Linked DNA regions of Homo sapiens: all the other regions are linked to region 4. The links are contacts of gene promoters, found by promoter capture Hi-C in blood cells and fetal thymus (Javierre and others, 2016). All regions are on one chromosome and are shown on one strand. The core of a region is centred on a gene start or on the middle of the fragment in contact, and the rest is flanking DNA. Distances in the headings are between cores, read along the strand shown. Region 1 overlaps LOC102723568 (a long non-coding RNA gene). Region 2 overlaps LOC102723568 (a long non-coding RNA gene). Region 3 overlaps LOC102723568 (a long non-coding RNA gene). Region 4 holds the start of EHF (ETS homologous factor).

Evidence for each region. Contacts are between HindIII fragments. The CHiCAGO score rates a contact against its expected background, and 5 or more counts as called.
Region 1: a fragment that was not itself captured here is called in contact with the fragment with the promoter of EHF in region 4 in 1 of 17 cell types (endothelial precursors); the score reaches 5.0 in endothelial precursors.
Region 2: a contact is called between a fragment that was not itself captured here and the fragment with the promoter of EHF in region 4, in 6 of 17 cell types (M2 macrophages, M1 macrophages, total CD8 T cells and 3 more). The highest score is 8.4, in M2 macrophages.
Region 3: a contact is called between a fragment that was not itself captured here and the fragment with the promoter of EHF in region 4, in 1 of 17 cell types (endothelial precursors). The highest score is 5.9, in endothelial precursors.

The regions. Positions count from the first base shown.
Region 1 is chr11:34,775,522-34,778,221 of GRCh38, forward strand. All of the region lies in intron 6 of LOC102723568 (a long non-coding RNA gene), which reads left to right. Among named protein-coding and RNA genes, the nearest start is that of APIP, 140 kb to the right of the region's middle. The HindIII fragment of the contact is 1,321 bases long and covers 689-2,009 here.
Region 2 is chr11:34,840,059-34,842,758 of GRCh38, forward strand. All of the region lies in intron 6 of LOC102723568 (a long non-coding RNA gene), which reads left to right. Among named protein-coding and RNA genes, the nearest start is that of APIP, 75 kb to the right of the region's middle. The HindIII fragment of the contact is 202 bases long and covers 1,318-1,519 here.
Region 3 is chr11:34,859,711-34,862,410 of GRCh38, forward strand. All of the region lies in intron 6 of LOC102723568 (a long non-coding RNA gene), which reads left to right. All of the region lies in intron 1 of LOC105376624 (a long non-coding RNA gene), which reads right to left. Among named protein-coding and RNA genes, the nearest start is that of APIP, 55 kb to the right of the region's middle. The HindIII fragment of the contact is 2,813 bases long and covers 44-2,700 here.
Region 4 is chr11:34,619,643-34,622,342 of GRCh38, forward strand. EHF (ETS homologous factor) reads left to right here and starts at 1,451. Exons shown (of 9, transcript NM_012153.6): 1 at 1,451-1,586. The HindIII fragment of the contact is 6,441 bases long and covers 1-2,700 here.

The DNA.
Region 1 (2,700 bases), core at 99-2,598, 160 kb after region 4:
CTTTGGCAGTTTTGGATTGGGCTTGTGAAACAATTTGTCAGGCAAGTGTTTCTGTGTACGTGGCTAGCTGTCCTTGTGCTGCTAGCTGTCCTTGCACAACTCACATAGTCGCTGCAGTATGGAAAAAATTTCTTGTGATAGTTGTTGTTGCTAGGCAAATCATGCATGAGAACCTTCCCTTGATGGCCTTCCCTGGCTCCATTTTGCCAGGTTTGACTTGAGTGACTCCATTTAGAATCTGACAATTTTCATTCTTCTTTCACTCAAATTTATGTGGTGAGATCCACTCATATTGGGCTTTCTTTTTAATTTCATATGGAATTCTATGTGGATATGCCAAAATGCATTTATCCATTTTACTATTGATTGACATTTGGGTTGTTTCTGGTTTGGGGCTATAATGAATAGTATTACAAAGACTATTCTTGTACATATCTTTTGATGCACATAAAAACATATTTTTTTTTGGATGTACACCTAGGAATGGAAGTGATGGGTCATATGTTATACTTATGATCACTTTATAGATATGGCTCAACAGTTTTCTGAAGTAGTTTAACTACTTTATTAATTTTAACATGTTAATTTATAAATTATTTCTTTTGTAATTAGCTGATTTTGTATCAAGTTTAAGAAATCTTTGCTTACCTGAAAGTCATGAAGATATTATCATCCGATTTCTTCCAAAAGCTTTATTGTTTTACCTTTTCACATTTAGATGTAAACATTTAAAAATTTTATTTAATTGACAAATTAGCATTTTTATTTGACAAATAAAAACTGTTGTCACCTTGTTATACAACAGAACTCTTAAAGTTATTCTTCTTGTCTAGCTGAAATTTTTTGTCTTTTGACCAACATCTCCTAAATCTCGCCATCTCCACCTATGGTAACTACCATTTTACTCTATTTCTGTGAGTTCAACTTTTTAAGATTCTCTATATAAGTGATATCGTGTGGTATTTGTCTTTCTGTGCCTGGCTTATTTTACTTAACATAATGACCTCCAGTTCCTCAATGTTGCTGTAAATAACAAGATTTCTTCCTTTTTATGGCTGAATAATATTCCATTGTGTGTATATGCCACCTTTTCTTTCTCCATTCATCTGTTGATGGACACTTAGGTTTATTCCATATCTTAGCTATTGTGACTAGTGCTGCCATAAACATGGGAGTGCAAATATCTCTTTGACATACTGGTTTTCTTTCCTTTGGATATATATCCAGTAGTGGTATAGCTGGATCATAGGCTAGTTCTATTTTTAATTTTCTGAGAAACCTCCATACTGTTTTCCATAATGACTGTAGTAAATTACATTCCCACCAACAATGTTTAAGTGTTGCCTTTTCTCTACATCCTCATGTACACTTGCTATCCTTAGTCATTTTTATAATAGCTATTCTAACAGGCATGAGGTGTTATCTCATTGTGGTTTTAATTTGCTTTTCCCTGATGATTAGTGATGTTAGCCATTTTTTCATATATCTGTTGGCTACTTGTATATCTGCTTTTGAGAAACATTTATCCAGGTCATAGGTCCATTTTTAAATTGGGTTACTTATTTTCTTGCATTGAGTTTCTTATATATTTTGGATATTAATCCCTTATCAGATGCATGGTTTGCATATACAGATGCTTGTTGACTTACAGTGAGGTTACATGCCAATAAACCTGTTGTAAGTTGAAAATATTGTCAAATCAAAAATGCATTTAATACACCTAGCCTACCAAACATCATAGCTTCGCCTAGCCTATTTTAAACATGCTCACAACACTTATGTTAGCCTACTGTTGAGCAAAAGCATCTAACACACGGTCCATTTTATGATAAAGTGTCTGATATCTCATGCAATTTATTGAATACTGTACTGAAATACACTTTCTGCTGAATGCATATTGCTTTTGCACCATCATAAAGTTGAACTATTGTTAAGTTGGGATCATCTGTGTATTTTTCTGTTCCTTGGGTTGTCTCTTTAGTCTGTTGATTGTTCCTTTACTGTGCAGAAGCTTTTTAGTTTGATGTAATTCCATTTGTCAATTTTTGCTTTTGGTGCCTGTGTTTTGAGGGTCAAAACTATAAAATCCCATTGCCTAGACCCATGTCTAGGAAATTTTCCCCTGTTTTCTTCTAGTAGTTTTATAGTTTCAGTTCTTACATTTAAATGCTCAATCCATTTTGATTTAATGTTTGCATATGGTATGAGATAGGGTCTAATTTCATTCTTCTGCTTGTGGATCTCCAGTTTTTCTAGCACCATTTTTTGGAAAGACTGTATTTTCCCTATTGTGTGTTCTTGACATCTTTGTGGAAAAATCAATTGATTGTAAACACATGGATCTATTCTGAGGCTCTCTGTTCAGTTCCACTGTTCTACATATCTATTTTTATGCCAGTACTATGCTGCTTTGATTACTGTAGCTTTGCAGTAGATTTTGAAATGAGTTAATGTGATGCCTTCAATGTTCTTTTTGTTTAAGATTGCTTTGGCTATTTGGGGTCTTTTGTGGTTCTAGATGAATTTTAGGATTTTTTTTCTATTTCTGTGAAAAAATGTCATTAGAAATTTTATAGGGATTGCATTGGATCTGTAGATTGCTTTGGGTAGTGTGGAGATTTTTAACAATGTTAATTCTTCCAAACCATGAACATGGAATATATTTCTATTTATTTGTGTCTTCTTCAATTTCTTTTATCA
Region 2 (2,700 bases), core at 169-2,668, 220 kb after region 4:
ACAGTTGGTTTTGCCAGCTGAGATGACAAACCCACAGTCTTGAAATACCATGAATCCTTCTAACTCTTAATGATCCTACCTCATGGTCCTATATAGCTGCTCCAGCCCCTGACATCACATCTGCATTCCAAGCCTATAGCTCAGAAAGAAGGACAGAGGAGTTATCAGAGAATAGTCAGCAGTCTCTGCCAAATGTCTTGACTTTGCTTTTAACATGGGAAGGGCAGGAAGGCACAGCCCATTACCGACGATGCTTCACTGATAACTAACATTGAATCCATAACATCTAGAACTGTTCTTTCCTTTGGTCTGAAGCTGAACACAGTGATCCCTTGGAGCTCACCTTTGGCATGGCACCTGGAACAGATTCTAACTAAACCACCAGTTGAAGGCCTTCTCCTCACTTGGTCCCTCAAGGAACCTCCTTCTTCTGCAGGGGCTTTCTAATCACACAACCCTTATAGGCCCCTGAGTCCTCTAAATTATTCTACTTGTTCTCCCTCACCTGACCATTTCCCTTCCTTGGCCTTTAAGCTGACTTCAGCCATTCCTTTTCATCCAGTTTTCAGTGTTGTGGTCATTTTTCCTGCTGAAGATGGAGAGACCGTAGGATGGCTGTGTTTCAGGAGAGGAGGGAACAGTCAGACGTGTTCACTGCATAGGGGTCACCTCCTACAGCCACTCCTGTTATGTAAGGCCATCTCTGTGTCTTTGCCACTTTGATGTTCTTTTTACCAAAAGCTGCCTCTCTAGCCTGGCTGAGTGTAATGCCAGCCCCAGAAGGAGGCAGTGGTGTAGTGGTGGGTTGTGTTCTAGGACAGATTCCCCACTTCCCCTTCACGGACCAGTAAGGACTCCTGCGAGTAGAGCACACCATGCTAGTGAGGCCCAGGTTACTCATGCAGCCCCTAGAGGGCAGTAGACTTTACTCCTCATCAAGGCCAGGCAATTGCCTAGCCCTGCCAACACTTGCCTAACCTTTTACAACTTATCACTAAAAGGAATGCCAACTAATTACTGGGCATCCACTGTGTCAGGGATTAAATCGGCTCATCAAATCCTAACAACAGCCCTGCAAGATGGGGGAGTTTAGCTCCATTTTACAAATGAGGAAACCAAAGACCAGAGAGGTTGAGTAACTTACCCAAGGCTATAGATCTAGAAAGTGGTAGGACCAGGACTGCAACTCAGGTCTGATGCCCAGACTATGTTCTTTATCCTATGTGAGTTGCCTCTCATTAAATGTCCATAATTAGTCAGTGGTACGGAGAGGGAGGTATGGAGAATCAACACAATGAATGCAATGAATATTTACTAAGCTTCTACTAAGTGCCAGGTACCAGGGATACAAAGATGGATAAGACATGATCCTCAAGAAATGTCAGTTTAGCCAGGAATACAGTCGTGGACATGGATTACTTCAGGCCAGTGTACTAAGGGCAAAGATCTTATGAATACTCAGCAGCATAATCCATACTTGGGTAGAAATTTAAGAGAGGGAGCAGGAGGAATCACAGGAAGCTTCCTGGAAAGGACCATCTCTGAGCTGAGTCTTAAAGGGTGAATTTGAGTAGACAGGTAGATAATGTAAAAGGCATTTCAGGCAGAGGACACAAAACATGCAAAGGTCAGGAGGTAGGGCCGGTATAACATACCAGCCATATACTCTGTATGTATAGGCTCCAGTGTAGCATTTCAGTATACACCCAGCAAACATTTTTCACCAAATAAATGCATTCTCCTCCTGCAATGGGTAGAAACACACACACACACACACACACACACACACACACACACACACGCACATACACACACCCCAAAAACCTTTCTGGTCACTCCATTAATTTTTCAGTCACATTCTTCTTGTCTTTTCTCCTGCCTCAGCCTGGCTCCCACTTCTGCCTCCTCCCCTGTTCTCAGGTTCTCTATGTAGAATGTTCTGATTTCACCAGAAGACTTTTTTTGCCATGGTCCTGAAACTCCATTTTGCTTGCATTCATTGGAAGCCAAATGAATGTTGTACTTCTTGGAGTTCTGCTGAGATGTTGGGGGGCTGAAAGCCAGCGTCTTGGGTGAGTGAGGTCTTCATAGAGACTTCAGGTTTAAGTAAGACTGAGCCCATCTGCTGCTTCCATCCTTCCCAAACCTGGTTCCCAAGCAGCACTGGTGTCAGTCTAGCCCATTGAGGAGCTTTGCCTCCCATTGGCTCCCAGATTTTAGTTGCCGGGACACCTGAAGGAGAAGAAGGGTGTTGGTCCTCAATTCCCTCCAGCCTCATGTTGCCGTGGCCTTTATCCACGCCTCCGTGCTGGGTCCCAGCCTCTTGATTTCCCTTTCTCCTCTTACTCCAGGCCTGTCTCCCCCATCCCCAGAAACAGTGTAACCTATGCTTAGAAAATTAAGTTTTACAGGTTTCAGTCAGGGGCAGGAATTTCTAAGGGTGGGATTTTAATATCAGTGTTCGAGTTGATTCTCCCAGCATTTCTTGGGGTGGGAACCCCCCTAGCACCCCTGAAATCATACAAGCCTGTTAAGACAGTGGAGCTATATAGACCTGGGTAAATAACTCTATGCTCACACAAACCTGAGTTCAAATATGGGCTCTGCTACTTCCTGGCTTGGTGACTTCAGCCAAGGAGCTGAAACTCTCTGAGCCTCTGTATTCTTGTCTATAAAGCAGGGATAATAGTGCCATGGTGT
Region 3 (2,700 bases), core at 200-2,699, 240 kb after region 4:
ATTCCAACATGTAAGTAATCTTCGCTGACCCTAACTGGAGCAAAGCTTTTGCTGAAAGGAATGAATTATGTACCTATTTTTAGTGAAGTATCTGGTATCTGTCTGCTTTGGTTTAATATGCTTATGTAACCTCATTGAAGGGCTGATTTCCTCAGTTAATAAGGATGCAAAAGACCAGAGTGCCCACTTAAGAGAGACTATGTTTAGACCTCTCAAGGAATAATTAATAAAGGGAATCAAGGGTCAAAGATTATTTCAACTGACAAGTCTAGGCCCTTCTCATTAGTAAAAACTGCCCGGTTGCCTTGCAGTATTTTCTTTGCCAGGAGACAACACCTATCCTAAATGTTTAAGTGACTTCTTGTTGGGCTGGTTTCGGAGGATTAAGCTCAGTGTAATTTCATCCTTCCCAGGTGTGAGACACTTGCGTGTGCAGTAATATGATTCTGTACTGTCAGGGAAAAGAGTGTGTCTTTGTCAGCAGTGTTTGGCAGTCAAACCCCTGAATCATGACCTCACTTTCAGGTAATCACTCTTTGCAGGCTTAAAACCCCTGGCGTTACCACTTGCTCTTATGCTGAGAGACTTAAAGGTTTGGCTGCTGGCACGTGGTCCTGCTGGTCAGCAGAATGGAGATGATCTGTGCTGGCAGCCCAACTGGACTTCAGAAAGCATTCCCTCCCCAGCTGTTTGGATTCAGTTTCTAAGTGCTGAGCAATACCATCTCTATGTTCAAGAAGGGCAAAAACCAAAATGAGTAGTAATTATTTGGATTTGCTTTAGCCTGTAGTTAGATCAATTCTTCTTCTGATGCTTTGGGTAATGTCCTCAAAATGATTTCCTACTGAATGTTTACAATTTCAACATGTAATACATACTCTGGATAAAGCAGTAGCTCACAAATCATCTGATCAACAAGGTGAATCCTATCTCTGTCTTGGTCCACATGGAGACTAGCACATGTGATTGACAGGCAGATAAGGGCCGTATTGTCATTTGGTTGCACCTGTCCATATGGCGAGGGATCGGAAATGAGAAATGGCTGTATTCTAAGCTGGGGATTATAGAGCTGTGTTACTCTAAGTCTTACTGTCTTACAGTAGCAAGGAGCAAGAAGAGTCTTGAAAGAACGGAGCCTTAAATATCATAGGTCAAGCCCTATAGTTTCACAGATGAGGAACTATTGCCTCAGAGACAGAAAGCAACTTACACAAAATCACAGAGAAAATGCGAGTGGCCTTGCTGGGGTTAGAGTCAAAGTTTCCTGACACCCATCTAGTGGTCTTTCTGCTACACCTTTTTGTTTCCACAGAGTTTTACTGACCCCTGTATTAAAGAAAAAAAAAAGATAAAGGAAAAAAAGCCTGTTTTGGCATGGTCCCTTGTTCTATGGTTTAAGGTCAGTCTTGTTCTTCAGCATCAGCACTTTAAGGTTTTTTTTTTTTTTTTTTTTATCAGAAGTCTCTATATGGTTAGCCTGAACCAGATGAAATTGCTGCTTTTATGAGGCAAAAAGTTAAATATAGTAAATTTCAGATAGTTCTACCTGAGAGTTTTTCATTTAGAAAGTGGCAGTTAATGCCGGGCGCGGTGGTTCACGCCCGTAATCCCAGCACTTTGGGAGGCTGAGGCGGGTGGATCACGAGCTCAGGAGATCAAGACCATCCTGGCTAACACGGTGAAATCCCGTCTCTACTAAAAATACAAAAAATTAGTCGGGCACGTGGTGGCGGGCGCCTGTAGTCCCAGCTACTCGGGAGGCTGAGGCAGGAGAATGGCGTGAACCCGGGAGGCGGAGCTTGCGGTGAGCCGAGATGGCGCCACTGCACTACAGCCTGGGCGACAGAGTGAGACTCCATCTCAAAAATAAAAATAATAATAATAATAATAATAATAATGATAATAAATAAAAGGAAGTGGCAGTTAACATAGTTGTCCTTGAATTTAGTAAATTAGCAAATCATGTTCTCTTATTGGATTACTTATTAACCAAACCCTGTCCCCTAAACCTATATGGATACTTTCTACTTTTCCCTTTCTATCCAGAGGGAAACATAAAGCAATGTAAGAGGAATAGAGGAGGCTGACCATAGCTAAGACTTTTGTAAGGCTGCCAAATATAAGGTATTGCCAATGTCTCCTGTGTTCTTGGCCATTAAACTTTAAGATATCCCTTCCTTAAGTCCACTATTTATACCACCAAAACCAGGTCCAACTTCTTGATAGTACATTCTCATAGCACCTCATAGTTCTCTCTTGTAGCACTTCTACTTTTTCACTTACTTCTAAGGTTATTTTACTAACTTCTTCCAGATCTATGAGGGCAGGAACCTGACTGGTTTGCTTATGCTGCACTTGGAGCACTTAGCACAGAGTCCAGCATACTCAGCAAGTATGTGCTGAACGAATGAACAAAAGTCAAATGGTCTGATTTATTTCTGTCCACCCCACTTGGTGAACCTTATGTCAGAACATTTTTGTTTATTTATTTATTTGTTTGTTTGTTTATAGACAGAGTCTTGCTCTGTCACCCAAGTTGGAGTGCAATGGTACAATCATAGCTCACTGTGACCTTGAACTCCTGGGTTCCAGTGATCCTCCTGCCTTAGCCTTCAAAGTAGCTAGGACTACAGACACACACCATCATGCCTGGCCCAGAATATTTTGTTTAAATTTAAATCCAATAATGGAAATCTGTGA
Region 4 (2,700 bases), core at 201-2,700:
CTGCACTGACCAAAGCCTCAAGCCCTTCTTCAAGACCTGCCCAGCTTCCAAGACCTTCCCAAGTCCACCCTTGTTTTCCCACTGAGTCTTTTACACTTTCAGAAACCTCTGAATTTGTGTAGAAACTAGAAAAAATAAGTAAGAAAAGACTAATACTACTGCACACTCACTGTTCCCCCTTAATATAATAACCAGTTTTTATTCTATTCAGTCAGCCTTTGACCATAAGCAGACCTTTTTTTTTCTTTTTAACACAAGTAACTTCTTGGTTTTGATCACAAAATCTTTATCTCTGCCAAATCTCAACTTCCCTTCCCTCTCCCACAAAAGGGAGGCCCGTTGAGTCAAAGAAATCTGCTTAGACACTTTGCTCATGCCAGGCCAGTGTCCTGGAAGGTTCAACAGAGAAAGTTAATGGTTGGGGGATGGTATTTTTCTTTGCTAGGAGCAGTCATTCACCCGTATGGGAGAAGGTACATTTGTGACCCAGTGAAGCAGGTACAGGTAACTCCCCATATGTCCCTTGGCCCAAGGGAATAGAGGTTGCCTGGGTATTTGAATCCGTAGATCCTCCCTAATATTCCACCTTCTTCTTGTCCAAACTGTGCTTTTTTATTTCCAGTTTCAGCATTTTGGTCTTCTCATCTCTAACTCTTATAGGGAGTGTCAATAAACCTTTTAAAAAAGATCATGTAAGTGTCAAGAGGAAGTGAAGAACCTAGATAATCCACCAACCGGATAATCAGCTCTTGCATATTTGAGAGTTGACTGCTTGACCTAAGCATCTCCTCATAAGGTACCCTCCCTCCCAGGACCTTCCCTTTCAAACCTCTCAAGGCTCTTACCTGGGGCCAGGGGAGATAGGCTTTTCAAAGTCCATTGAATTGCCAAGAGTCTCTGTCAAGAAGGCAGTCATGGTGCCTGGAGAGGGAACTTGCTGGGAGCCCCTTCAGAGCCTGGTACTTATAGAGCTAGGGAAAAGATCTTGATGCCAAAGCAGGGTGGACTAAATACAGACTAATAAATGAGACAGGTGCTCAAGAGGGCCCCTCCATACCATCATCTCCTCCAGATTTGGACTTCTACTCACTTTGCTTTTACATTCCCTCTTCCCGATGGTGTCTTTGGTGAGCAGGGTGCTTTTCACCTGAAACAGCCTCTGAGCTGAAAAGAACAGTCACCACCAAATCAATTCCTCATCCATTAACAGGTTGTCTCTCTGTTCTTGAGACACAGGCATTACCTGGTTAGACCTGTTTTGTTTGAACACTAACGTGTGAGTTGGCCAAATGCAAATGAGCCAGTGTTTGTAATCCTTTATTTTATTTTTTTAAAGGGCTGGGTAGCCAATCAGAAGAGGGGGAAGTGACTTAGGGAATTCCCGGTTGGTGGCTTATTGCTTAACATCCTACAAAATGATTTAAAATTATTGTTATATGCATTTATCTTCACTCTGATGAGGGCTCAGACTTGATAACACCCGTGGTGCCCCATCCCTATAGGAGCTGGTGAGATTGCAGCCTGCTGCCTCCCCTCCAACAGCCACAGCTATTGGATTTCCCACCCAGAATCTTTAGGTAAATGAGGTAAGTCCTGATTTTTAAAACTTCTTTTGAATCTGGAATCCAAACACTTGAGTGGAAAGAGAAGCCTGCTTTAAACTGGACAGATGAAACTAGAACAGACTCTTGGAGACGGCTGGCAGGAAGTGAAGCTCACCTTACCTGGGCTTACCTCACTGGGTCAAATCAGAATTTTATTTTGGAGGGCAGGTTGGCTACTTTGGATATTATCTGTGAATTTCCTGCATTGTCTGGACTTCTAATCTCTGTGAATTTAAAAGCCCCCTCGTTTCCCTATGCCTGGGTGGCAAAACCATTCCCCTGGGTTGAATTCTTCTGGAACAAATAGGCAGCTAGAGATAGGTGGCTCTGATATAGCTCAGAGAAGAAGTGGTTGGCTAAGTAGCTGTTAGGGCTCAGAGTACACGGTCTCGCTTTCTAGAGATGTCTTCTGCTGGTAATTTTTCTGACTTATGAGCTACATGGAAAGGCCAATTTGTTTTTAATATGTTCCAGGACTGGAAAATGGCTAGAAATAGGCAAGAACATACACAATCACACTGGAAAAAGTGGCCAGGCAGCCAAGGCAGGCAGAGGTATTGGGGAGAGCTGAATATCTACAAAAACAAAAATTCAGAAAAAACAAAAATCAATTTTGGCAAAGGGCTTCACTGTATAACAAGGGGACAAGCTAACCCTTTGTTTACAAACTAACCCTTTGTTTACTCCATTTTGTCCAGAAAATACAACAATCAGTTTTGGCAAAGGGCTTCACTGTGTAACAAGGGGACAAACTAACCCTTTGTTTACTCCATTTTGGGAGACTATGATCAGACAGGCAGTTGTGACTCAGCAGCAACAAATGCCTTCTGAGACAGGGATTCTTTTGATTTTGCTTGGACATTGTGGAGAAGTGTTAGCCCCAATGTGGACTGATCTGGGAACAGTGGGAAATTAACTTCTTGTTGGTAAATATCAGGCTGAGGTGAGAAAGCGACATTTTCACCGTCCATCTTTGCTGATTTACCATGCTCCCAGGATGGTGGGAGTGTGTGTTTTTAAGATGGAGAGTGTATGCTTCTGGGTTCAAGTTCACAGGTGTCTCTGCTGGTTATCTGCACTCACCTTGGTAACAGGG